Linked DNA regions of Homo sapiens: all the other regions are linked to region 3. The links are contacts of gene promoters, found by promoter capture Hi-C in human tissues and cell types (Jung and others, 2019). All regions are on one chromosome and are shown on one strand. Each heading gives the region's core, a stretch centred on a gene start or on the middle of the fragment in contact. The rest is flanking DNA. Distances are from core to core; before and after follow the strand shown.

The links. The method cuts DNA at HindIII sites, captures the fragments that hold promoters and counts their contacts. A contact is called where the count stands out against the background at its distance.
Region 1: a contact is called between a fragment that was not itself captured here and the fragment with the promoter of MTFMT in region 3, in 1 of the 25 tissues and cell types used here (adrenal gland).
Region 2: a contact is called between a fragment that was not itself captured here and the fragment with the promoter of MTFMT in region 3, in 1 of the 25 tissues and cell types used here (spleen).

The regions. Positions count from the first base shown.
Region 1 is chr15:65,454,064-65,457,875 of GRCh38, reverse strand. DPP8 (dipeptidyl peptidase 8) reads left to right here. Exons shown (of 20, transcript NM_130434.5): 16 at 1,505-1,651; 17 at 3,461-3,613. Among named protein-coding and RNA genes, the nearest start is that of IGDCC4, 33 kb to the right of the region's middle. The HindIII fragment of the contact is 4,987 bases long and covers 1-3,812 here.
Region 2 is chr15:64,679,873-64,683,807 of GRCh38, reverse strand. ZNF609 (zinc finger protein 609) reads right to left here. Exons shown (of 10, transcript NM_015042.2): 7 at 3,448-3,623; 8 at 2,946-3,162; 9 at 2,421-2,499; 10 at 1-2,116. The coding sequence ends at 2,426. Among named protein-coding and RNA genes, the nearest start is that of OAZ2, 21 kb to the left of the region's middle. The HindIII fragment of the contact is 5,319 bases long and covers 1-3,935 here.
Region 3 is chr15:65,027,702-65,031,202 of GRCh38, reverse strand. MTFMT (mitochondrial methionyl-tRNA formyltransferase) reads left to right here and starts at 1,564. Exons shown (of 9, transcript NM_139242.4): 1 at 1,564-1,798. The coding sequence starts at 1,590. RefSeq lists silencers at 1,412-1,601, 1,852-2,151. The HindIII fragment of the contact is 8,500 bases long and covers 1-3,501 here.

The DNA of each region.
Region 1 (3,812 bases), core at 113-2,612, 430 kb before region 3:
GCTGTAGTGAACTATGATTGTACCACCACACTCCAGCCTGGGGTACAGAGTGAGACACCATCTCTTAAGTAAATAAATAAATACAAGTGCCTTTACTCACCAAACGCCCTCTTCCCAAGGTAGAAATGGGAAAAAAACATTATTCTCCTGTTTCTCTTTTTCATTCATTCATTTAGCAAACAGGTATTAAGTTCCTGTGATGTGCTAGGTACTGTTCTAGGCAGTGAGGATACCCAGTGAACATGTCAGACTAATATTCCACTTCATGGACCATAAAGGGAAAATAATAAGCAAACATAAAAAGATATGATGGTGAGACCCCATCTCTACAAAAAAATTTAAAAATTAGCCAGGCATGGTGGTGCACACCTGTAGTCCCAGCTACTTGAAGGCTGAGGCAGGAGGATCACTTGAGCCCAGGAATTTGAGGCAGCACTGAGCTATGATTGTACCACTGCACTCCAGCCTGGAGACCCCATCTCTTAAAAAAAAAAAGTATGACTTTTTTTGTTTGTTTTTTGAGACAGAGTCTCACTGTGTTGCCCAGGCTGCAGTGCAGTGGTGTGATCTTTGCTCACTGCAACCTCTCTGCCTTCTGGGTTCAAGCAATTCTCATGCCTCTGCCTCCCGAGTGACTGGGATCACAGGCACTCCCCACCATGCCCAGCTAATTTTTTGTTTTTGGTAGAGACGGGGTTTCGCCATGTTGGCCAGGCTGGTCTCGAACTCCTGACCTCAGGTGATCCACCCGCTTCAGCCTCCCAAAGTGCTGGGATTACAGGTGTGAACCACCACGCTCAGCCCAAAAGTATGACTTTTTATAATGGAAGTTCTATGAAGATTTGCTGGGAAAGGGGATGGCAAGACCTCTCCTGAGGTTACAAACATTGAGAAGGAATGAGCCATGCAAAAGATGTGAGAGAAAAGCATTCCAGACACAGAAAACGGTAAATGTCAAGTTCCTGGGGCTAGAACCAACTTGATAGTGTTGACAATAAGGTTAGAGTACAGTGCACTTGGAGGGAAATGGTATGAGATGAGGTCAGAGGTAGCCAAAGATCTCAAGGGCCATGTAGACTTATTCTGAAGGGTAATGGTAGGCAGTGGAGGAAGCCAAGCAGCAGTCATATCTGATGTCTGATGGGGAGGAAAGTTTTTCTTATTTGTCCTTGTAACTGTCATTCGAATAGCACAGTTCTTCAGGGTAGAAGTAATCAATTTAGTAACTTTTTATATGGGGTGGGTTGATTCACTTATATGTAATTAATATTTAAGTTAGAATTTTAAAGCCTATGGTTGTTCAGTAATTGCCCTGAACTTGAGTGTGAAGTTAAGCAAGAAGCAAATAAACAGACTTGTTAATTTAAAAAGAAATGACTTAAAAAATTACATTTTAAAGGTAAAATAATAGTGAAATTAAGCTTTCTATTTCTTGCAATGCCCAGCCGCTCTTGGGTTTTTATATGCTTCCATATGATAAACTGAAGTTGTGTTTCTTCCTCAGGTGCAGTTGGTGAATAATCGGTTTAAAGGAGTCAAGTATTTCCGCTTGAATACCCTAGCCTCTCTAGGTTATGTGGTTGTAGTGATAGACAACAGGGGATCCTGTCACCGAGGGCTTAAATTTGAAGGCGCCTTTAAATATAAAATGGTGTGTGAGCATAAAACACTTTTCTTTTACAGACATTTACATTTTCTGGTCCATTGTTTGGTGTGAAACCCTTGAAAGAGAGTTGGGGGAAGGGGCTATGAATGAGTGAGTGAGAGTGTATGTGTTAGAGTTTGGGGGTGGGAGAGAAGATGCAACTTGATGTACACCCTACTTATACGTAACTTTGGGGAACTGAGATAGAGCCACTTGTACATAGAAATATCCTCTCTGTTTTGTATGTCCACTTGGGTAGAATTTAGCACCATTTAGCTTTCAGCATCCTGTACACAGTTGAGGAATAATTGAGATTTGTTCTGTCCTCTGTGAAGAGGGAATCCAACTGGTTAGTGCCTTCCTTGTGACAAGCCTCTTTCTCTCTACAGGAAGCTTTAAATGCTACCTTTTAGAGATGCCCCATGTCCTTTCTGCTGCTTTGGGAAATGATGAGAATCCGATGTTCCTTTTGCACAGTAAGGCAGTTACTGTGTTTGCCAGTGTTATTGGACATGCTGAGTAAGACATGGGGATTTTCTCCCACAGCCAGTTCTTTGACCTTATGTTGTATTCTCATGTAAGTTTTTTTGTTTTTATTTTTGTTTTTGGCTCAGTGAAGTGAGATTGCGTGCACTGGCAGGCCTAGTAATATAGACAAGGTGGTGGTGGTAGGAATTAGGACTTTAAAGAAGTAGTATGTTCAGTTCCTAGAGGTAGTATAATAGGGAAATAAGAAGACAGGGCCTCAAGAGCAATTCCTTCTGCTTTACTGCACTAAAAATTAAAAAGGAGAAGTAGGCCAGGTGCAGTGGCTCACGCGTGTAATCCCAGCACTTTGGGAGGCCAAGGCAGGAGGATCACTTGAGCCCAGGAGTTCAAGACCAACCTGGGCAACATAATGAGACCCCACCTCTACAAATGAGTTAAAAAATTAGCTGGGCATGGTGGCGCATGCCTGTGGTCCCAGCTACTTGGGAGGCTTGAGGTGGGAGGATAACTTGAGCCCGGGAGGTTGAGCTACAGTGATCCCTGGTCACACTACTGCACTCCAACCTGGACAGCAGAGTGAGACCATGTCTCCAAAAAAATAGATAAAAAGGAAAAGTAAAATTAATTACTTAAGGGGCTAATTTTTTGTCTTTGGGTATAGGAAGGCTTGTTACAAGGAAGATGCTGACCTCTTAGCAGACAACAGAACAAATGGAAATGGGAAATACCCAAATAGCAAGGGACAGTTTGAGTAGCAGTAGGAGGGAGCTTTATGACTAAGTGGTAACTAAACTCTAGGACAGGCTAGCAACAGAAGATATAGGCCCCTATCTCCAAATAGATTTTTAAAAAATTTGAGGGAGAGGGGGCAACAGAATCTCAGTTGGTAATAAACTCTAATCTAAAAAAACCTACGGGGCCGGGTGTGGTGGCTCACGCCTGTAATCCCAGCAATTTGGGAGGCCGAGGCGGGTGAATCACTTGAGGTCAGGAGTTCGAGACTAGCCTGGCCATAGTGAAACTCCGTCTCTACTAAAAAATACAAAAATTAGCTGGGCATGGTGGCGCATGCCTGTGATCCCAGCTACTTGGGAGGCTGAGGCAGGAGAATCACTTGAATCCACCAGGCGGAGGTTGCAGTGAGCCGAGACTGCGTCATTGCACTCCAGCCTGGGTGACAGAGTGAGACTCCATCTCAAAAAATAAATAAAATAAAAATTAAAACACCTACAGGTATTTTTAGTAAAAACATTTATCATCTTTGAAAGCACTCTTACGAGACTTTTATTCATCAGAATCAGTGAAATGTTCTCCCTTTTTTGACAGGGTCAAATAGAAATTGACGATCAGGTGGAAGGACTCCAATATCTAGCTTCTCGATATGATTTCATTGACTTAGATCGTGTGGGCATCCACGGCTGGTCCTATGGAGGATACCTCTCCCTGATGGCATTAATGCAGAGGTCAGATATCTTCAGGGTATGTGACTTCCTATTATACTCATTTTTGCAATAAGGGTAGATTTTTCTGTAAATGGAGGATATATGAAAATGTCTATTTTCTGAAGGTTTACAGAGTTGGCAATTTTTTTTTTTTTTTTTTTTTGAGACGAAGTCTTGCTCTGTAACCCGGGCTGGAGTGCAGTGGCGCAATCTCAGCTCACTGCAATCTCTGCCCC
Region 2 (3,935 bases), core at 1,244-3,743, 350 kb after region 3:
CTGCAGGCCAGTGCCACAGATACAAAACACACAACAATATTTAAAAACAAACAGGAACAGAGAGGGAACCTTGGCTCCACCTCACAGGAGCCCCAGGAGGGCATAATCAGGCTGAAATTCAGTCACCCTCTTGGTTGGGGTGACTCAGGTGGGGTGGGATGACGGTGTCTGCACTAGCTACTTCCACGGAGGAAAGGGAGGTCACTGCTCAGAGCACTGCCCATGAGGGCAGCAGAAGGCAGAGGGAATGATGGGTATGAGGGAGGCTGTTTTGGGGCCCTGCCAAGAGGTCTAAAACAATGGTTTTTGGGGAGGACTCAGAACCCAACTTGAACAAAAACGAGGAGGCAGAAACCTAGGGAAAAGGCCTGTAGATCAGAGGGGATCCTCTTGAGCAGATGGTGACCCTAAGCCTCTCAAGTGTAGGGTTCCAGGGTCCTTGGAAATCAACTACTACTGGGCATTGTGCTTACTGTCCCCTATTTCCCATTTTCCAAACTGAGTCGGAGCCAAGTTCCTGCTCCTAGTCACTTTTGGCACTCTGGTCACACACTCCCTTTTCCAGCCTACACTGGTGTCTGTCAGTCTTTATCTCTCTCTCTCAATCCAGAGGGTCATGGAAAGATAGGAGGGGAGAACAGAGGGATGATACCTCAAAAGCCAAGTAAGCTAAGCTCCCCACACCTTGGGGAAGACATGACCCCAATAAAGCTACCAAATCATCCTCACTTTCCCAGTACAAAGAGTATAAAGCTTCCATTGGGAGACTGCATTTCTAAGGAGAGCAGAGAAATGTTGGCTGCCTCAAAGCACAGCTCCACTGAGTACATTCTGAGACTCTAATAAGTAATGGCTTGGATGTGTTATTCCAGGGTCTAAGGAACAAATAACCTCCCATGGCCAGTGGCCCCTCAAACAAAATATGTGTTACCAAGAAACACAGCTTATATTGGCCCACATGGAGGTTATAGACTGAGCTATATAAAATCATGTACTTGTAGACAGAGGAATTGGGCTGTATATATCTGTGGCCTCAAATGAGGAAGATATCAGATGGCTAGATGACAGGACATCTCCAAGAACTGCTGGGTGCTCCCAGGGGCTGCCTTCTGGGCCTTGCCCTAAGGTGACCTGGCAGACTCCAAGGTTCCCCAAGCTGGGGGGAATACTAGTTTATCTGCCTGAGGCTTAAGAGCCAAGCAGTGGAAAAGAAGAGGCAAGACCAGTGTGGGGATCCCCCTGGGAAAGGCACCAAGGGGTTAGGAGGGAAGGGAAAAGGGCAAGGAGTTGGGGAATAAGAAGCAGCAGGACTTAGTGGGGACGCAGGTTCTACTTCACAGACGTCATTCATGCTCCAGCACCAGCTTGCTCCCAGTGTCCCTGGGGAGCCCTGTGCTGGTGTTGGAACCCCTGCCCCCTGCCTCACAGGCAGCTCAAGGCCATGTTGGGGCAGATGCCTTGGTCTTCCTTTCCAGGCTAGGTTGTGAGCGTTTATATGTGCTCATGTAAATGGGGAGAAGTCTCCACATTTGAAGACCTTGTTTTCACAATTATGTAGAAAACAACCCCCAATTTCTTTCCTGAGATTCTAGTTCCTCCACATGCTGCCAATTCCCAGGGTGCAAAGCACTAGGGAGATGCAGAATCTGGTGATGGTGGTAATGATGGTGAGGGGTATGGCTGCTGTGCTGTCTTCAGACCTTACCCAGTGCTTGGGGGTGGGGGTCCCTCCCTGGTGGGCGGGGGGGCTGGTACTGCTCCAGCAGCAGACCAAGGGCTTGGGGAACAGAGCAGTGGCTTCTCTGGGCTGAGGCCATGTTCCCCTGGTTGCTTCCCGTGCCTTCATCTCCACAGAGGCCACAATAGTCATAACTGTGGCTGAGAGAATAAATATTTTTGCTAAGTACCAGCTCTCCAGCTCCTGAGGAAGAGGTAGGGTCAGGTAGTCCGGAGGTCTGGTGGAGGTGAGATAGCCAAGGGTCTGCCTTCAGTCATGGTGGAAACGGCAAACAGGATGATCAACACCATTTAACTGATGTCTAAACGGCACCTTCAGCACCTCCTTGGGTAAGCCAGTCCGGGCCCGTGAAGCTGACTTTATCCGGGCACTTGGTGTCTGCAAGGGAAACATGGACAGATAACCAGGCACTCAGCCTGTTGGTAAAAAAACCACAAGGTGGCACTCCAAGAAAATGAATTGTAGGAGTGGCCAGTACTGGTCCCTAGGGGACACTGTGTTCCACAGGTCCTCTCAGATGCACATGGCTTCACGGGAGACTCTTGTACAAGAGGCTTGGCCAGGGTTCCATGGATTCCAGACTGCTGACCCCTCATAGCTATTTCTCACCTAGGGATTCTGTGATCCAGGTAGCAACTATCCCGGCTTTATGTGTTGCCCCAAATTAATAAAAGTGACTTACCATTCTCACCTCCTGGGGGGTGGGTAGAGTGAGGGAGTTGAGCCTTGTTGGCTGGCAACAATGGCTGTAGAAGAAAGCCCTGAATAAGCAGGAGAACATGTTAGTGTAGCACTCACAGAAACCTTCCATTAATCTTTTTCCCTGAGTTTTGGGGTGCTGACAGAAAAAAAAATCTGATACTCAGCCAGATATATTTGCTGGAGATAGATAATAAGGCTCTATTTCTCAGCTGATTGTTTCTCTTTGCCTTTGGGGAACACCTGTTCCATATTCTTCTGACTATCAAGGCCAGTATTCTGGAGGAATTTAAGAGTCCCCAAACTCCAAGGGAGGAATAAATATCATATGCTTTAATGACTGCAGGAGGTTAGGACTGTGCACAGATTAGAAGCTCAAAAAAAAAAAATTAAAAAAGGATTCTTATGAGGCAGGTAGGAGGGTCCTAGCTGTGGACATTACTACTGGGATGAAGATAAACAAAACAAAACAAGACAAAACAACAGGTGGTAGGGAAAACAGGCTTACCTGCTGCATAGGGTAAGTTGTACTGTGCTGGGAGCAATGAGTACCCCAAGTGGTGGTGGTGGTGGTGTGTGGACATCAGGCGCTGGGAAGGAGAGGTGCGGGGCCGGTCAACACTCCGTTCACCCCCACTTGCTCCCCCGACGCTGCTACAGCTGCCACCACCCCCAACCACCCCACAGCCTCCTCGATCTCTCTCCTGAGAAGTTTTATCACTTATCTGGAAAGGAAACCAGAGACACAAAAGCACTATAGTGAGACACATATGCATACAACCACACACACACACACACACACACACACAAGTGAGATGCCCAGGGTGCCACCTTATGACCCCTAAAAGTGCAAGATACCTAAGAATAAAGAAGATGCCCTGGGGGCTGCCAGTGTCAAGTCAGCCAAGCTGCACTGTGGTCAGGACCTGAACTTGCCCACCTTCTCCCAGACCCTGGATCTGGCCTTACTAGTCTTTGGGTAACAGCCAGCATCACTGTACTTTTCTTACCGTGGGAGACTTGCTCTTGTAGTGACTGGCATGCTGCTGCAAGATGTCCAGGGCTTTGGACTCTGAGCTGGATTTACAAGTCACACTGGGGCTGGCTCGTGCCTTGTCAGCATCTTCACCACCTGAGACCTTGCTGCCATATGGGGAAAAAGAGTAGCTGGAAGGCAGGTAGGAACCTGTGGAAGGAGAAATCAAACAGTCAAAGAGATGGGAGAGGTAGAGGAAACTCTGCTTTAGTGAGCTTGATTGGGTGGGCATCAGCTTTCCTAGGCACAGGCTGAGGTATTTTCTAACATAGTGTCTTTGGCTGAGACTGTTGGCTTGACCTTTCTTTACTGAGCTCTACAGGAAAAATTAGCTAAGGGATATTAGGAACATGGCCCTGTTTCCTGCTTCCAACTTCCATAGATCTGATACTGTTCTTTGAACTGGTCTCAGATTCATCTTGGAGAAGTGATATGATAAAGTGGAAAGATCACACTTATCTG
Region 3 (3,501 bases), core at 315-2,814:
AGGAAGGGAGCATGAGCAAAGGCACAGGAGCAGGGATGTGCAGAGCTCATAATTTAGGAAAAAGGACTGGTCCAGGGTCACTGGGTTTAAGACTGTGTGATGGGAAAAGGTGGTGAGACGGCAGGGCGCAGTGGCTCATGCCTGTAATCCTAGCACTTTGGGGGGCCAAGGCAGGCAGATCACCTGAGGTCAGGAGTTCAAGACCAGCCTGGTCAACATAGTGAATCCCATCTCTACTAAAAATACAAAAATTAGCTAGGTGTAGTGGCGCATGTCCCAGCTACTTGGGAGGCTGAGGCAGGAGAATCGCCTGAACCTGGGAAGCAGCGGTTGCAGTGAGCCAAGATCGCCCGCCACTGCCCTCCAGCCTGAAAAACAGAGCGAGACTCCATCTCAAAAAAAAAAAAAAAAAAAAAAAAAATGGTGGTGAGAATAAGATTAGAACAAAATTCGGTTTCAGTCTCTGCTCAGATCCTGTTTCATGGATGTCTGACTCCACTCAAGGAGGCTTTGGGGATACAGAATCTAAGCACTAACGGTCCTCGGAGGTCTTCTGGGGATAAGGTTCCCTGTCCATTTCCCTAGGAATCACCTCTATGGTATCCTTCTGTGTGCAAAGGAACCCACAGGGGAGGAGTAAAGATGGAGCCTTCGATTCAAGAAAGTAACTGCAGACAAGTAACTAAGGCTCAGTTTCCTCAGGTGCAAAATGTGGGTAATTGACTTGCCTAATACATAGGATCGCTGAGAAGGCCCAACGGCTAGGATTACAAGCGTTGGAATTACAAGAGTCCCACCTCTGCTCTGTCCTTTACTAGCTGTGTGGACCTTATACACTGGTAAGTCCTTAATTTCACGGAGCTTCAGTTTCTCTTCAGTAACATATTTGTAATAGTATCTACCTCCTAAGGTTGATCTGATGATTAACCAGAATAATGAATATAAAATGCTTAGCAAAAACGTGGCACGGAGTGAAGTACTCAGCAAATATTGGTTATAATGGTTGAGGAAATGACATGCACTATATACATGAGGTTTCATTGTCTGAAAACATGCACGATTTGTTACCAAAAGACTTATCCTGGGCCGGCGCAGTGGCTCACGCCTGTAACCCCAGCACTTGGGGAGGCCAAGGCAGGAGGATTGCTTGAGACCTGGGCAACATAGTGAGATACTCTCTCTACAAAAAATCAGCCCAGCATGGTGATGTGTGCCTGTACCCCAGCTACTCCGGAGGCTGAGGTGGGAGGATCCCTTGAGCCCAGGAGCAGTGAGGTTGCAGTAAGCAGAGATCGCGCCACAGCACTCCAGCCTGCGCGACAGAGCAAGACCCTTTCTGAAATAAATAAATAAATAAATAAATAAATAAATAAAGCGATTTTAAAAAGAAAAGAAAGACTTATTCTGGAGGATTGGCTACATAGTGCAAATAAACAGAACAAAAATCTAGGGCCGCTGTAGCGGGCAAATTCGTTCACCAACTCCAACCAGACCCCGCCTCCAAGCAGGCAAGCCCCGCCCTCCCCAGGCTGCACCCTTGTCCCCGCCCCGATGCGCCTGCGCAGGGCCGGCCGCCGGCGGCCGAGGCGATGAGGGTGTTGGTGCGGCGCTGTTGGGGTCCTCCGCTGGCTCATGGCGCCAGGCGTGGGAGGCCGAGTCCCCAGTGGCGAGCACTGGCCCGACTCGGCTGGGAGGACTGCCGGGACTCCAGAGTCCGCGAGAAGCCTCCCTGGCGGGTGCTCTTCTTCGGCACGGACCAGTTCGCCCGCGAGGCGCTGCGGGCGCTGCACGCCGCCAGGTACCCGGGCCAGGGATCCGGGGACCCGGCCGCTGAAGGCCTCCAGGCCGCGCCCGGGCGGCCGGCCCCGAGGGTTTTGGACTTCTGGTTGCGGAAAGCATGGGCGGCAGAGCGGTGTGGGCCCAGATCTCGGCGTCTTCTGGCTCCCAGAAGGTGCGCCATTCCCGCCGGTCAGCCTTTGGGCGCCTAGTACCTGCGGTCTGCGCCCCTCACTCCCCGCCGCCTCTGTGGGTTCTCCAGGCGCCCTGCCACCCACGCTGTGCCGAGCTGGGGCTGGGCGCTCTGCCTGCATCCCCCGGGCCAGTCCCACGGCCTCCCTGCCCGTTTTGAGTGTGGGGAATCCGTGGCTCAGAGAGGTTATGCGATTGCCCAAGGTCATCAGCCGAGGTGGTTCGGACTAAAACCAGGTCCCACTTCAAAGTTCCCTGCTTTGCAGTTCCTCCTGACCCCCATCCTTCGGCACACCCGTGTCTCGCTCTTTTGCTCCCCCTGTGCTCCTTGTATACAAGGACATAGTCCAAAAACGACCTGTTTTCAAAAGAATAAATTTATAAATCAGAACTGTTAGGTATACATTTAGTATTCATAATATTTAACAAGTTTTGTTTACTGGGAAAGAAAATTATTTGAAATCCAACCAGTCCTGAGAGTCCATGGTATGTGGTGGCAATACCGTATATACTTCTCTGCCTCTTTTTCCCAATTAATGTTTTTTATTTCCCCATTCTGTTTTTTTCTGACGCAGTCCTCCTTCCACTTTTTTTGGTCATCTCCATCTCCTTTTCCCTACAGATACTTCACAGCAGCCCCTCATGTATTGAATCCTTCGTCAATCCCCTGTGTGGTTTTCCTTCCTCCACACACCCCTCTGTGCACACACCCGGAAGGAAACCCCATGTTCCCTTTGCACACCCTTCATGGGCTGCTGTTGTCACATGCGTCTCTCACTGCATTTATACATTTATACCAACACTTTTTTTGTTTGTTTCTGAGGCGAGGTCTCGCGCTGTCCCCCAGGCTGGAGTGCAGTGGCCGGCTCATAGCTCACTGCAGCCTCGACCTCAAAGATCAAGCAATCATCCCATCTCAGCTTCCAGAGTAGCTAGGACTACGGGCGTGCACCACCACGCCTGATTTTTAAATTTTTTGTAGAGGCGGGTTTTCACCATGTTGCCCAGGCTTATCTCAAACTCCTGGGATCAAGTGATCCTCTCACCTTGGCCTCCCAAAGTGCTGAGATTACAGGCCTGAGCCATCATTCCTGGCCTATCCTGATACTTCTGATGATGCTTCACTTGGCAGCTCCATTACTCCTGTGCTTTCTTTATAGTGCCCCAGGACATACTCCTCATAACTCCTCAACGTGTACATACAATACCTGTTTAATAAATGTACCCCCCTGGGTACTAGAATGCTATGCAGCAGGTAGAAAGGATGAGGTAGTGCTACAGGTACTGCCATGGAATGATAGCCATGTTATGTATTTTTGTTTGTTTTTTAAAAAGTAGTGTTTGAATGGCATCATGGTTATGGTAAAAAAGTTCCATGGATTCAAAGGATATACAGTGAAAAGTTACTTCCTTCCACCTCTGTTTAGCAGTTCCCAGTTCCTTTATCCAGAGACAGCCACTGTTTTCAGTTCCTTCTAGAAATGTTCAGTGAATATACAAATATACGTATATTTAACCCATTTTTCAAAAAGA